6 separate regions of the Homo sapiens genome follow, and regions 2, 3, 4, 5 and 6 are each linked to region 1. The links are contacts of gene promoters, found by promoter capture Hi-C in blood cells and fetal thymus (Javierre and others, 2016). All regions are on one chromosome and are shown on one strand. The core of a region is centred on a gene start or on the middle of the fragment in contact, and the rest is flanking DNA. Distances in the headings are between cores, read along the strand shown.

Region 1 (2,518 bases), core at 11-2,510:
CTATCTGCTATGCTCTTCAAGAGATGTCCAGGATATAACACACAGAAGCCGGGTCATAATTTCAGAACCTATTACAAAATGTTTTGCTAAACTAGCTAAAATGATAGACATCTGGAATCAAATGAACTAGAGAGCTCAGAGAATGAAAGGGGTAGAAGACAGAGAGAGATAAGTCACAAAGTCCATTCGTCAAATTATTCTGTTACTGATGTATAATTATGGAACATATGCAAGTCCTTTAAACAAAAACAAAACTGCATTTTTCCGAACAAGAGTTGCGGCTTTTTGCCTTCAAATAATCCTACACAAGCAGAAAACACTGTATTGAAGGGTCTGAACGTGAACGAGTGATAGGCTTCCAAATTCTGAGGCACAAGGGATAAGGGCACTTCTAATTGCTTGATGCTACCAGCCGTGACTCTTCCTTTTATTCACATCATAACTTCATCTTGTGAAACTGCATTTCTTCCTCAGAATTCTACATCTCTAAGGAATGTTATAAATAGTAGTCAGAGTGGCATGAAACGGATAATTTACTTTGAACTTGGGAGAGAGACGGGGAAGACGCACATGATGAAACTCGTGTGTATTACATTAAATCCCGTTTGGGGGGTGGCCGGGAGAAAAGTCTTGTTTCTGGAAGTAACTGTGAGACAGACATAAAAAGCTCCACTTAAAATCTGAGGAGCCGACAGATTCTGTTCTTCCCACCCGTGCTCAGAAGCAGCCGCGCTTTACACACACACACACACACACACGAGTTCTGGGGTCGTGAGCACACACACACACACACACACACACGAGTTCTGGGGTCGTGAGCCCCGGAAAAGCTCAGTGCAGGCAGGGCCAGGCCGGCTGCTCTCCGGGAACTGGCGCGGCTGCAGTGCGGACCTCGCGGCGCCAGGCTCTAGGCTCAGACTCCGGGCCGCCCCAGCTGGCCAGCCTGTCCCGCCGGCTGCTTCCTCCGTCCACCGTCGGCAACGCGCGGCCGCATCCGCAGGACTGGGGCCTTTCCGGAATTCGGCGTGGCGGACGCGGCGCAGGAAGGGCAAAGACCGCCGGCCGAGCGGGGAGGCCGGAAGCTCCGCCGCCCCACAGTCCCGCCCGCTCGGCCGCGGCCTCCCGGCCTGGTGCCCGCTCACCTTGAGCTGCCCTACCAGCCGCAGGAACTGCAGTAGGGACCGAGCCCCGTGGCCCGAGAAGGTCGCAGAGGAGACCGAAGCCATGCGGCCACCGACCCCGGCTGGGCGGAGCAGGCCGCGGCGAAGCTCCTCCCCGTCCTCCTCCTCCTCCCCTTCCCCTTGTCTTTCTTCCCCCTCCTCTTACTCTTCTATCTCTTTCTCCTCCCCCTCTTCTTCTTCCTTCTGCCCCTCTTCCTGCTCCCCCTCTTCCTCCTCCCCTTCCAACTCCTCCTCCTCCTCCCCCACTTCCGCTTTCTCCTCTTCCTCTTCCTCCTGCCCCTCTTCCTCTCTCCCCCTCCTCTTCCTCCTCCTCCTGTTCTTATTCCTCCTCCCCCTCCTCCTCCTGTTCTTATTCCTCCTCCCCCTCCTCCATATTCTCACGGTTTTCTCAGGACCTTCTGTCCAGCCTTCGCCTTCTTGGCCTTGGTGTCCGCTGCTTGGGCATTGCTCCGTCAGTGGCAGACACCTTGCTTGGCACATACTTGACACTCAGTACTCTTTATGAAAAATAAAGCTCTCCTTTCTAAATTTATGAACCTCGTTATTCTTCAGTTGACAGTGTAAAACCATGAAACTGGATGAGGTCACCTGGCAAGAGGGTGTGAATGAAGAAGAAAAGACACCCAAGACCTGAACCCCAACATTTAGGCTTTGTGAGATCAAGAGGGAACAGCCAGTGAGGTAGGAAGAGGATTAGTAGGTAGGATAGTTGTGTCCTGGAAGCCATGTACAAAAATATTTCAAGAAGGAAGGAATATGGTCAACCAAGTCAATGTGAGGACCAAGGTTTGACTTCCAGACTTAGTAAATTCAATATTATTGGTTACCCTGACAAAAGCAGTTTTCAGTGTAGTGGGCCAAGCAGAACCTAGTGAGATAATTCCGAAGAGAATAGGAGCAAGTATTACAGCACATTGGAGATGGGGTTGGGGTGCTGTTAACTAGTGGAGAGATTGTTTCAAAACAGGAGATATTATGTATGTTTACTGATGAAGGGGATCTAGTAGAAAGGGAAACATTGATTATGTAAGAGACAAAGAAGAGAAATATTTGAATGTCGGCCTTGAGTAAGGAAAAATATTCCCATCTGGTGTACAAGATAAAAGATGGGCTTTAGATAGGAATATGGAGAATTCATTCAAATATTGGAGGAGGACAGAGTATAGGGTGACTAATCAGTCGCACATGTGGTCATGGGAGGTTGTAGAAGTTCTCTTCTGATTGCTTCTATTTTCTCACCAAATTAGGAAGCAAAGTATAGGCTGGGATGTTATAATAACAAACAACCTCCTTATTTCCTGTATCTCAGCAGTTTAACACATCAAAGGTTTATTTCT
Region 2 (2,518 bases), core at 7-2,506, 500 kb after region 1:
CTTGGACCCTGAGAGATTCATCTCCTGTCTGTATCCCTCCTTGTCATGCATTTTACCCACAGTCATTCTTAGCTAAGTCCCCTTGACCCATTTCATAGACCCATAAAAAACCTGATGAAAGTTCAAGTTGTCATCATGCACAGCAAATACCATTTGCCAACATATCCTTGTTTGTGGACCCCCAAGTTAAACATTTGTGTTTTAGTAATACAAAACTAATTGCCAGTTTCTGCACGTGGATAGAGTATGATTTTTCTTCTCCATGCTGTTCCCTCTGCTTGGAACATGCTGTCCAATTTTCATGAGCAAGCCACTCTCATTTCTGGTGTCATCTCTAGGGGCCTTTCTTCCTTGAGATTCTGTAAACTCATGGAGCCTTCTGCATGAAACTTAGTGTCCCAAGTAGGCTTCCATACTAGGAGTAATTTTCTATATTAGCTATGTTATAGCTAATAGCTATATTTTGCTACTAGCAAAATTGACGTTCTGGTAAAAAATTAACCATGATTTTGGATAGCATGTAAGATTGATAAAAAAAAATTAGGGTTGAAGATTTTATTTAATCATTCATCCTTCTTCTCTCCCCACCCCCCACCCACCTCAATATAAATCAGTAGTCCCTCAGTATCGTGCAGGGGATTGGTTCCAGGTAGTGGGTTCCAGGACCCCTGCAGATACCAAAATCTAAGGATGCTCAGGTTTCTGATATCCAATGGTATAGTATTTGGATATAATCTATGCACATCCTCCTGTATATTTGAACTCATCTCTATATGACTTAAAATACCCCAATTCAATGTAAATACTAAGTAGATAGTTGTTATAGTACACTGTTTGGGGAATAATGACAAGGAAAAAAGTCTGTACATGTTCAGTACACAACCATCCAACCATTCATTTTTTTCCTCAATTTTTTTTTTTTTTTTGAGACAGATTCCCACTCTGTCGCCCAGGCTGGAGTGCAGTGATGTAATCTCGGCTCACTGCAACCTCCACTTCCCAGGTTCAAGTGATTCTCCTGCCTCAGCCTCCAGAGTAGCTGGGATTACAGGTATGTGCCACCAAGCCTGGCTAATTTTTGTATTTTTAGTAGAGACAGGATTTCACCATGTTGTCCTGACTGGTCTCGAACTCCTGACCTCAAGTGATGCACTTGGTTGGTTGATTCCATGGATGCAGAACCCATGGATATGGAGGGCCACCTGTGCATGTCCAGATCAACTTTTTAAAGCAGCCCTTGCTTACTTTACTAATTCTCAAACATTGTGTTAACACCCATTAAAAATAGCTTTGGTATTTATTATGACACTCATCTGGGAGAGTGTCTTTTATTCCTCCCACTCTAGTTTTCTTCTGTAGTTGGTACATAAAGGGACGAAAGCCTCCAAATAGGGTGTCACTGGAGTTTGGGGATTAGCCAGGCAAAAAGGGTACTCTTAAGACATTGAAAGGATTGAACATTGACCCTGATAGATGACATGAGCCATTTGGAGAGAGTGGTCCAATCTAAGAAGTGACTCCTAAGTAGGTGAATGAAATACTTTTAATTCCAACCCAAGTAATCAGAGGCCTTAAGTGCTTGGTTTTTATTGCAAAGTACCTGGCATGAGGTAATTTGCTTTTGATAGCTGATTAACAGAGGATTTAGAAAATAAGAGTTTAATAGTGTTTGTTCAACACTGTTCATGTGGAATTTCTGACTAGTGGGTTATTCTTATCACTAACCAGGTATGCCTTATAGAATAGAAATAATTTGTGAGATGAATCCAAAGGTCTGAGATCCCTTAAGAGCTTTCATGTTTCTTCTGTGATTCTGGCCTCGCTACACAAACATTGAATTTATTGACTTGTTTCCCCAGGCATGCTGATATCATGAAGTGAGAGTGCTCTGAGTAGCAGTGATAAATATTCTAGCCATTGGATAAGTGTCACCCCTGCAGTATGGGATAAATCTCAATTTCAGGCTATTCATGGGTCTGCTGGGAAGGTCTGCTCAGTTCTGTGGTTGCAGGTGTTTACAGCTGAGCCCTCATCCCTAGTTTCCGGTGATTTCCCCCAGGGTTCTGCCTGTCTGTAGGGTCCCACTGAAACAACTAGTCAGCAATACTCTTTGATATTTTGAATCACAGAACCTTCCAAAATAATTTCTATTTAACATGTCTTAACTCTGAAAACCTTTATAACAAGGAATAGGAATAGAATATTCACAAAACAGGAACTTAAGATGGCCAAGACATGAAAATAATACTGACTTCATGGCATCAAAGAAGTGCAGATTACTAGATTTAAAAAGTCAGTTACAATGCTGGCAAGAGTGAGGTTGTGTTTAGCTCACGAAGGGTAGGCTGGTATACCTTCAATGGAGAGCAGTTTGCCTCATGGTCTCTCTTGGCACTCGTGATTCTTCTCTGAGTATATCCTAAGGAAACAATCAGACATGAAGCTGAAGTTCCGTGATGAGCCCATGATCTCTGAGAGGCTACTGATATAGTAGAAAGGTTAAAAGCAGGAATGCCAG
Region 3 (2,518 bases), core at 14-2,513, 420 kb after region 1:
AATATATCCAGGGCAGGGAAAGTACAACTTGAGTCTGGAATATCTTTTTGTGCCGGAAAGTAAGAAAGTGCTCAAAGACACCAACATGGCACATGTATACATATGTAACAAACCTGCACATTGTGCACATGTACCCTAGAACTTAAAGTATAATAGTAAAAAAAAGAAAAAGAAATAATAAGCCAAAAAAAAGAAAGTGTTCAAAGAATTGTGGGTACATAAGAAAAAGCCAAAAAGCCATGTTAAAGGGCTTCCCATTAGTCAAATCTTGGAAATTTGAGTATCAAAATAATAATGACAGTAACTGATTATAACTCATTGAATAAAATAAGAATCCGTAAGTTCATAATGAGCTACCTACACACACATACATACATACATGCCTATAAAAGAAGAGAAAGCTCCTTCTTACAGTACAAAGCAAATTAATAAATATGAAAAGAATGATGAACTTGTAAAGTCATCATTTAGCAACGATGGTTGTAATAATTGATTCAGACAAGAATCATTCATGGATGCTAAACTAGAATGTGTAAATTTGATGAGCAACAGGATATCTACATAGTCTCAAAGTTTCTCTCTCAAATATGTATTAATTGCAATGGAAAAAAAATAGTAGTAACTATTTAGTGGAGAAATCTGGCAGAAACCACCTTAACCAAATGATTAAACGTCATCAGTAATGGTACCTTTCAATATCGTGTACCTTCTAAGACAAGGCACTGAGAAGGGCACAGCATTACTTCTGTGGAATTCCTGCCAAAATGTGTAACCTGAATCTAATTACGAGGAAACATCAGACAAATTCAAATTGAGGAACACTCTACAATATAGCTGGCTGTACACTTCCAAAACGTCAGTACCATAAAACACAAGGAAAGATTGAGGAATTATTCCAGGTTAAAGGAGACCAAACTTAATGCAATGTGTAATCCGTTGTTGTTGTCATTTGTGTTTGTTGTTTATAAAAGGGAATTATTGGAACAAGTTGAAAAATCTGTGTAACAGTCATGTATTAATGTTAATTTTCTGATTTAATATTACACTTGGTTATATAAAAGAAGGTTCTTGATTTTAGGATATAGACCTGAAATATTTACAGGTAAGTGGCATCATGTCAGCAACTTTTAATTTTCATCTTTTTGAGAACGTACAGGTCTGAAATTATGTGAGCATAAAAATTTTAAAGAAAGAAACTATATTATCTTCATGTGGTTGATTTCCTTCACTATGTATTTGGCAGTTATCACGTGCTCTCCACTCTATTTCCTTTTGTGTTTCATTCTTCATTTCTTTCATTCTTGTGTCTCCCACCCGCTCATTCTGGTAACAAAATTGAGAGTTTGGGTAGCATGGGCAGCTTTTGATTCTCCTCACTCAGATGTAAAAAGCAGACATATTTCCATTTTTGTTCAACATTTCCCAAGCCCATCTTCATATACAGTAGCAGTTTTTATAGGTACATACGCTGCTTTCATTATATCATCCACCAAAGGTGGCTGCAAGAATATAATGGGGGACCTTTGGGTCAATTCCAGCCCTTTCAATGAATCTATATAAAGCAAACTGGCCATTCCAAAGCAGAAACACTTACAGACCTGTATAATTGGTTCAAAGAAGACAAGAGGAGACCAAAATAGGTACATTTGTACCTTTTTAAAGTATCTACATTCTTGAAGATGAGCTTGTGTCTACTATATTTAAGTTGTTAAGCAAATGTGTGATTCATGTATTCATTCAGAAGGCCTTATGGAAAAACTAGTCCTTGCCAAATTTTATGAATAAGTGCTGTAGATCTCAAAGCTAAGTAAGGAAATGTTCTTCTTCTGGAACAGCATTTTTAAGAAAGAACAAAGTGGTAAGTGCTATAAATGAGTTGTATACTATATATTATGGAAAGACAAAAGAAAACACAACTAACTTTACAAGACTTGGTATTAAATCACAGAAGCAGGAGTCAAAAAAGCCATAAAGCAAACCTGGGCTAACTGGCTTTGCCAGACCCAAATCCTAAATGTTGTCTGTGATTTTCCTGACCAGTGAACATGAGGCGGGGTGCAGCATCCAGCCCTGTCTCCTCAAATTGACTCACAGGCAGAGGCAGGGGAAAGGTAAGTCCCCAAGGTGGGGAGAAATTTCAGCAGAGCAGCAGAGCTTCTGGACTTCTACCTTCTCCCGTTCAGACTTCCTCAACTTTATTTCTTTGAAATGTAGACTTGCCACATATTTCATTACATGCTATTTTATTTGATAAAAATGTGAGTGCTAAAATAATTGAAAACTGAACATGAGTTTTAGCATATGATCTCTCATATGGGTAGGGGAGGAGGTGTTTCCAATTGGAAGGTAATTCAACACTTGGTATCTAGGTACACAAAAAGATTGTTTAAAGAGGCTGTGCTCATAAGAGTTGGTTTATGTAAAAGAGTATTTACTGCTGCAACATTCCAAAGAGTGAAACATTGATATAACTTAAACATCCAGCCATATGATTAGATAAATCCTATATCGTGCCATC
Region 4 (2,518 bases), core at 13-2,512, 410 kb after region 1:
TTGCCCCTTCCCCAGAAAAGTGGGACTTGCCGATAAGGGTGAAGGACCAAGGCAGGCGTCCCTGCGTGGTCTGACACTCTTGAAACGTGGGTGTATAATCAGAGAGGTGTCCCTGCAATGATTAAACACCAAGGGAAAGCTGCCTTCCCAGTCCGTGACTGGCACCGGAGTTTTGGGTCCATGGATAAAATGTGTCTCCTTTGTCTCTCCCAGAAAATGAAAGGAATTGAAATTAAGAGAAGGGAGAGATTGAAGAGTGGAAAGGAGAAAGTGGTTGAGGGACAGTGAGAGAGGTTGGAGAGGAGAGTAAGAAGAGGCCGCTTACCTGATTTAAAATTGGTGAGATGTTCCTTGGGCTGGTGGGTCTGAGGACCTGAGGTCGTAGGTGGATCTTTCTCACGGAGCAAAGAACAGGAGGACAGGGGATTGATCTCCCAAGGGAGGTCCCCCGATCCAAGTCACGGCACCAAATTTCATGCGCGTCCGTGTGAAGATACCACCAAACAGGCTTTGTGTGAGCAACATGGCTGTTTATTTCACCTGGGTGCAGGCAGGCTGAGTCCGAAAAGAGAGTCAGCGAAGGGAGATAGGGGTGGGGCCGTTTTATAGGATTTGGGTAGGTAAAGGAAAATTACAGTCAAAGGGGGGTTCTCTGGCGGGCAGGAGTGGGGGTCGCAAGGTGCTCAGTGGGGGTGCTTTTTGAGCCAGGATGAGCCAGGAAAAGGACTTTCACAAGGTAATGTCATCACTTAAGGCAAGGACCGGCCATTTACACTTCTTTTGTGGTGGAATGTCATCAGTTAAGGTGAGGCAGGACATATTCACTTCTTTTGTGATTCTTCAGTTACTTCAGGCCATCTGGGCGTATATACGTGCAAGTCACAGGGGATGTGATGGCTTGGCTTGGGCTCAGAGGCCTGACAGTTAAGGCCACAATTCACAAACACATGCTTTGTATGTTCAACAATCTCAGAGAAAATGGGGCCTCCAGGTTTGGGGTTTCTTACAAAAACAGCTCTTCTGCAATGACTTAGGGTTCCATGTGGTTGTGATATTCCCAGGATGAGGGACTAAGTCAATCCTGATGAAACTTTAAAAGATGCCACCAAGTCTAAGTGTTTCAAAGCCAACACTTCAACTGCTAAATCATTCCCTCTGTTTTAAGCAGTGATTATTTGATTGGCAAGGTGGGGGTGGAGAGAACTCCTTCACTAGTAATGCATATGGACATGTCATCTCAATGATTGCGTATGAAAGAGGATGGGATCTGGAGAAAACCTCCTGATTCATTCAGACACACAAATCATCCAAAGGAGGGGGTTACACCATTTTCTCTTGAACTAAAGTAGGAAGTTTCCTGTGCCATAATTGTATTTGTTATAGTGCGATGATCAAAGTCAATAAATTCCTCCATCTATTCCCATTCAGGGAAACCATATGGCATTACTAGGAGAATCACATGTAGTGCTGGTTTGTCGTATACATGATTAAATACCCATGGGGGAAGGAAACACTGGGGAGGGCAAAACTATTTAAAGGAAGAGACTAAAAGCATAAACTCCAAGATACATGTGAATACATATTCTACTTCTGTAAGCTCTAAAGTGGTAGATCTATACAGAAAACATACTGCAATATGACCATGAAAGGAAAAGAAGATAGATTCCTAAAAAAGAAAAAAAAGAAGATGATTTATCTCAGCAGCTGTAGAAATCATTTAGGTCTTCATCAGAAGTTAGGGGTTCTAGGAGGCAGATATATCCATTCTGAAGTCTACTGGTTATCAAAGACAGTCCTAACAGTTCTATCCTATTTTATTGCAAGGAAAATGTCACAATTTAGTGAAAAACAAGGAGGTAGCATTTTCTTACCTTTCAGATTGGTGAAGATTAAAATGTCTGATAATTCCCCAAATCAGCATGAATATGTATAAACCGGTATTGTTGGAGAGAATAAGTTTTCAGAAACGCAGCTTGACTACATTCATCAAAATTTCTAATTTATATAAACAATGGCCCCACAAGTCCTTGGCTAGGAATCTATCTTAAAGAGCAAGCACAAGATATGAAAAATATCTGCCAATGAGTATCTATTGTAACATTTTTTATTTTAGCAGAACGTAGAAGAAATCTGAATATCTCACAGTATAGGAGTGCCTAAATCAATTAGAATAATCAATGCAATAGAAGAATATGCAGCCAATAAGAAGAAAAAAGAAAGTAAACCTGACTTTCCAGTGTCCATGGTTTTTTTTTAGTCATAGAATATGAGTCTACTTGGATAAAAAGAAAAAAAGAGAAAAGAAAACTTTTAAAGCATAGGCATACCTGATCAATGTTTGTTTATACTGTACATTAAAGACTTTTGGAAATTTACATAAGAAATTATGTCTGTTGAGTGATACTAAGTAATATGAATAAGAAGTGGAAACTTGAAGGGAAAACAACTTTTGCTTTTCATTTTATACCCTTTGTTCTGTTTGACTTTAAATGAGTGTATATACTCATACAATTTTTGA
Region 5 (2,518 bases), core at 14-2,513, 350 kb after region 1:
CCAGCTGTGACCAAATATGAACCTGAACAAGCCAATCCTTTAAGACAGATCCTGAGTTGTTATCTGGGCCCAAATTTTAAACTGAGACAAGCAGTCATTTGCTGACTTAGGTCACACAGGTTCTCTGAGTTCCCCAAAAACCCACACCTCTATTTAACTTTGGGATTTTCAGAGCTCACCTGAACCAACCCAATCAGTGCTCACCTACCGCAACGATCAGGGCTCAGCTGTATCAATCAATAAGGGCTCAGTAGTATCAACCAATCAGAACTCAGCTATACAGACAAATCAGAACCCAGCTATAGAGACCGATCAGAACTACACAAGTTTGCCAAACCTTAATTTGTATAAATATACCTGATTGGGAACCCTGATGGGAATTTTTGATATAAAACCCAAACCCTCCCATTGTTCTCTGAAACGCACCTTTGTTTTACACCAAAGGCTTCATCTCCTTGGTTTGCAAACTGTTCACTGAAATAAAGTCTCTTTCCTCCAAATTCGCTTTTCAGATAACTTTCGTTCACACAACTAAAAGGGTTGTTTTGTTGTGTTTTGTTTGTTTTGTTTTGTGACAGAGTCTTGCACTCCCAGGCTGGAGTGCAGGGGTGCGATCTCAGCTCACTGAAACCTGCACCGCCTGAGTTCAAGTGATTCTCCTGCTTCAGCCTCGCGAGTAGCTGGGACTACAGGCATGCACCACCACGCCCGGCTAACTTTTTTTATTTTTTGTAGAGATAGGGTTTCACCATGTTGCCCAGACCGGTCTTGAACTCCTGACCTCAAGTGATCCGCCAGCCTCAGCCTCCCAAAGTGCTGAGATTACAGGCATGAGCCGCCGTGCCCCGGTGAGATAATTTCAATTTAGAAACTTAGAAAGTCTCTCTCAAATTTCAGCGTTCACTGACTTCAGATTTTGGTTTTCTCACTACTGTGTTTTTGAATTTTAAATCATGCAGCTCTCAGGGGGTAATTAGTTTATCAAATACTTTATCTTTCAGATTATTACTTTAAATATGCCTAGAATTAGGCATGAACATAATCCTAAAAACAACATTTTTATTTATATCCTACCTTATTCTTAAAATAATGCATAAATGCTTATATAAATACATAAAACAAGAAAAGATGAATTTAAATAATGTTGAACTCGAAGAAAAGGTGACAGAGTTAAGATATAATCCAAAATGAAATTAGGGGACACTGTGGAAATCTCCCTCTCCAGTCTCCTGCTTAGCATATAGTGGTATTAAATAATTATTTGTTGATAATATTAATAAAAGCAAAAATTGATGGAGTGCTTCCCATATACTCAACCCTGATTCTTTTCTTTTTGTTCTTTTTTTTTAATACTTTAAGTTCTGGGATACATGTGCAGAACATGCAGGTTTGTTACATAGGTATACACGTGCCATGGTGGTTTGCTGCACCCATCAACCCGTCATCTATGTTAGGTATTTCTTCTAATGCTATACCTCCCCACAACAGGCCCCAGTGTGCAATGTTCCCTTCCCTGTGTCCATGTGTTCTCATTGTTCAACCCCTACTTATGAGTGAGAATATGTGGTATTTGTTTTTCTGCTCTTGTGTTAGTTTGCTGAGAATTATGGTTTCCAGCTTCATCCATGTCCCTGCAAAGGACATGAATTCATCATTTTTTATGGCTGCATAGTATTCCATGGTGTATATGTGCCACATTTTCTTTATCCAGTCTATCATTGATGGGCATTTGGGTTGGTTCCAAGTCTTTGCTATTGTGACCAGTGCTGCATGTGTCTTTATAGTAGAATGATTTATAATCCTTTGGATATATACCCAGTAATGGGATTGCTGGGTCAAATGGTGTTTCTGGTTTTAGATCCTTAAGGAATCGCCACACTGTCTTCCACAATGGTTGTACTAATTTACACTCTCACCAACAGTGTAAAAGCATTCCTATTTCTCCACAACCTCTCCAGCATCTGTTGTTGCCTGATTTTTAATGATTGCCATTCTAACTGGAGTGAGATGGTATCTCATTGTGGTTTTGATTTGCATTTCTCTAATGACCAGTGATGATGAGCATTTTTTCCATATGTTCGTTGGCCGCATAAATGTCTTCTTTTGAAAAGTGTCTGTTCATATACTTCACCCACTTTTTGATGGGTTTTTTTTTTCTTATAAATTGTTTCTAAGGGCAAAAAAAGTATTGTTTCATTTAATTCTCACATTTATTATTGAGGTAAGTTCTATCATTATCTCCATTGTACAATGCTTACCCTGAGTTTCAGAGGCAAGTTTGTCAATTATGGCAAAGGTGAGCTACCAGCTCAAACAGTCTAATCCTGGGACTTAAACCATGGCACCATGCACCCTCCAACATTAACTGTCTAGAATCCCTGCTTGTGAAAAACTAGGTAGAGGACAAATAAGTCCATCTTAGCATCACTTCAGTTCAGTTGAATAAATAAAAGAATAAATGAATGTGATTTGCCACAAATTTTGTCCTAAGTTTTCTAACATCCAAAACAAAAAGGAG
Region 6 (2,518 bases), core at 15-2,514, 330 kb after region 1:
CCTATTATGCTATATTTGTAAATATTTTAACTTGAAGAATATTTTTAAAAAGGGACATTCATGATTCTGCAACTTAACTACCTCCTTGGAAAATTATGTAAAGTAAGATTTAAAAGCACTACTCTCCCACTCCATCAGTGAGAAGCAGTCTGAAGACTTCCCATTCGACTTTTTTCTATGTTTATCAAGTTATTTCTACATTGAAAGAGAAACAGAGAGAGAAGGAGGGAGAGACTTTTAAAAATCATGTTCTACATTTTGATTCAGATGGTGCTTTTTCAATTTATAATAAACTACTGACATTATTCAAGAAAAGCAAACATAGAGACTCTTAATTCTTTTTCATGGTTGCGTAGTACTTTATTGTATTATGAACCATAATCTGTCTAATTTTTCCTCTATTGATAGATAGTTAAGTTCTTTTCTATCTTTTTCCATCACAACCTAAACTAAAATGAATAATCTTACATACGCATATATGTAAATTATATACACACACACACACACACACACACACATATATATCAATTTTTCTGGGCTCTGGTTTAGACTTGTAAAGAAAGATTCCAGATTAAAGATTTCTCATTTTACATACAAAGGAACTGATGCCCTCAACATGGGTCTACAGAGATTAGCTTGATGTAAACCAGAAGGCTCAGTGACCCTCAGAATGGGGAAAGAAAAGTGAATAGAGGAAATGTCAAGTGAGGAATTAGAAGTCAAAGGCTCAAGTTTCACTCTGAAAGTTAGGAACCTGCTTGGGGTGATATGTATCACTATTAAACCCTCACTACACAAAAGGGACTCTGAATGAGGTGAAGAGATTGATTGGAGGCCCCAAATGTAGTAGAAGATCAGCCACAAAGAAAGTCGGGACCCCAGACCTGGTGCTTAATTGCAGCCTGCTGTGGTTTAAATGTATGTGTCCCTACACAATGTATATGTTGAAACCTAATTGCCAAGGTGATGGTATACTAGAAGATGGAGATTTGGACAGCTCACGAGGACTCTGCGCTTGTGAATGGGATTAACGCTTTTATAAAAGAAGCTTCAGGAAGCTGCCTTGCCCTTTTGTCCCTTTTGCCATGTGAGGACACAGTGTTTGTCCCCTCCTGAGGGCACAGAAACAAGGCACCATCTTGGAAGCAGACAGCAGCCTCACCAGACACCAAATCTGCCAGCTCTTTCACCTTGGACTTCCTAACTTCCAGAACTGTGAGAAATAAATTTCTATTATTTATTAATTACCCAATTTAAGGTATTTTGTTATAGCAGCCTACATGGACTAAGACATAGTCCTTGAGGATAGAGGAGTGGGGCAGGACTGGAATTCAGACAAGAAACAGGAAAAAGAGAACATCACCACAGGGCGAGTAAGAAGAGGCCATGTCTCACAGCAGCTGGTGAAGGCCACAGGCAAGAACACTCTCGGAGGGGTTTCCTGTTATTGCCTATTCTGTGACCCCTCTCCTCTGTCCCCAAAGCTTCAGTGAAAGCTGCTGCATGACAAACCCTTGTAGCAGCAATAACTTGGGGGAATAAAGGAAATAAAGCAAGAGAGGGATTGTCCCAAGTTTCAAGAGTGGCAAAGGCAGCAGAGGCCCAGGGTGAAGTGGGCAGATGAAGGCAAGAGCGGAAGCAAGCTGGGGCCTGGAGTGACCTGGAGCAGAAAAGACGCAGACCATCCTATCCACATGAGCTAGAGGAAGGTGGCCTTGAAGAAGGAGGAGGAGTTCACGCCCTTAGTTTACGTAAATAGGGGCTGTCCATGAGCAGCCACATGGGTCACAAATGGATAGCCCTATCATCTTAATTTTTTTTCATTTCAGCAAATGTACCAGAAACACATTCACCTCAAAGCCCAATAGCAGCTTGAAGAGGAATTTTTTTTTTTTTTTTTTTTTTGGTCATTCATTCCTTGCCACACAGATCTTAAACTTTAATTTCCAAATCTGTATGCTGGCTGCAACAATTTCCTTCTAGTACTTCCCACTTCCACCTGCCCCTCACCCATGCTCAGTCTGCCACGCAGCCTGCCTCCCACTGGCCCCAAGCCACAGCTAGACTGCTGTCATTGTTGACTGCCAGTCTGGCCAAATGGTCCTAGCAGCAGCATATACCTACTTGGCACAGAGAAGGAGAAAACAAGGACTTATGTTTTCCCTCTACTGGATCTCTCTTTTCTTTTTCTCCTCTCCTTCTCTCTCTCTCTCTCTTTCTCTTTTCTCTCTGCAGTTCTTTGCATATTATAAGTCACAAATCAAAACAGATGTCTCTCTACATCCTCCAATACCTCTCTAGGCACATGTCACTCAGGAAAATATTGCCCATCAGACTCTGATGTCGTGAAAAGACAGAGAAATAAACTGTAGTGAATTCTCCAGGGAAGATCATGTCTGAAACTGATTCTTGCAGTTAATCCTTCCATATGTCCTTGATCACAATGTCCCAATAAGTAGTCACACTATTTCTGTTCAGCCAGAGTACCCTGTGACACATTAACTCTACCTCCACCCCC

The links. Contacts are between HindIII fragments. The CHiCAGO score rates a contact against its expected background, and 5 or more counts as called.
Region 2: a fragment that was not itself captured here is called in contact with the fragment with the promoter of HDDC2 in region 1 in 9 of 17 cell types (total B cells, total CD4 T cells, fetal thymus and 6 more); the score reaches 14.2 in total B cells.
Region 3: a contact is called between a fragment that was not itself captured here and the fragment with the promoter of HDDC2 in region 1, in 12 of 17 cell types (total B cells, naive CD8 T cells, total CD4 T cells and 9 more). The highest score is 16.6, in total B cells.
Region 4: a contact is called between a fragment that was not itself captured here and the fragment with the promoter of HDDC2 in region 1, in 1 of 17 cell types (naive CD8 T cells). The highest score is 5.3, in naive CD8 T cells.
Region 5: a contact is called between a fragment that was not itself captured here and the fragment with the promoter of HDDC2 in region 1, in 1 of 17 cell types (naive CD8 T cells). The highest score is 5.4, in naive CD8 T cells.
Region 6: a fragment that was not itself captured here is called in contact with the fragment with the promoter of HDDC2 in region 1 in 1 of 17 cell types (naive B cells); the score reaches 6.2 in naive B cells.

Annotation. Positions count from the first base shown.
Region 1 is chr6:125,300,707-125,303,224 of GRCh38, forward strand. HDDC2 (HD domain containing 2) reads right to left here and starts at 1,261. Exons shown (of 6, transcript NM_016063.3): 1 at 1,143-1,261. The coding sequence starts at 1,226. RefSeq lists a silencer at 951-1,290. The HindIII fragment of the contact is 13,888 bases long and covers 1-2,518 here.
Region 2 is chr6:125,795,747-125,798,264 of GRCh38, forward strand. All of the region lies in intron 1 of NCOA7 (nuclear receptor coactivator 7), which reads left to right. It overlaps NCOA7-AS1 (NCOA7 antisense RNA 1), which reads right to left. Exons shown (of 3, transcript NR_126386.1): 3 at 2,115-2,419. Among named protein-coding and RNA genes, the nearest start is that of NCOA7, 6.0 kb to the left of the region's middle. The HindIII fragment of the contact is 5,504 bases long and covers 1-2,518 here.
Region 3 is chr6:125,725,658-125,728,175 of GRCh38, forward strand. The region is part of intron 1 of HEY2-AS1 (HEY2 antisense RNA 1); the gene reads right to left. Among named protein-coding and RNA genes, the nearest start is that of HEY2-AS1, 23 kb to the right of the region's middle. The HindIII fragment of the contact is 6,410 bases long and covers 1-2,518 here.
Region 4 is chr6:125,706,841-125,709,358 of GRCh38, forward strand. All of the region lies in intron 2 of HEY2-AS1 (HEY2 antisense RNA 1), which reads right to left. All of the region lies in intron 3 of LINC02523 (long intergenic non-protein coding RNA 2523), which reads left to right. Among named protein-coding and RNA genes, the nearest start is that of LINC02523, 34 kb to the left of the region's middle. RefSeq lists enhancers at 257-803, 804-1,349. The HindIII fragment of the contact is 7,752 bases long and covers 1-2,518 here.
Region 5 is chr6:125,652,298-125,654,815 of GRCh38, forward strand. The region is part of intron 3 of HEY2-AS1 (HEY2 antisense RNA 1); the gene reads right to left. Among named protein-coding and RNA genes, the nearest start is that of LINC02523, 21 kb to the right of the region's middle. The HindIII fragment of the contact is 4,411 bases long and covers 1-2,518 here.
Region 6 is chr6:125,629,309-125,631,826 of GRCh38, forward strand. The region is part of intron 4 of HEY2-AS1 (HEY2 antisense RNA 1); the gene reads right to left. Among named protein-coding and RNA genes, the nearest start is that of LINC02523, 44 kb to the right of the region's middle. The HindIII fragment of the contact is 436 bases long and covers 1,047-1,482 here.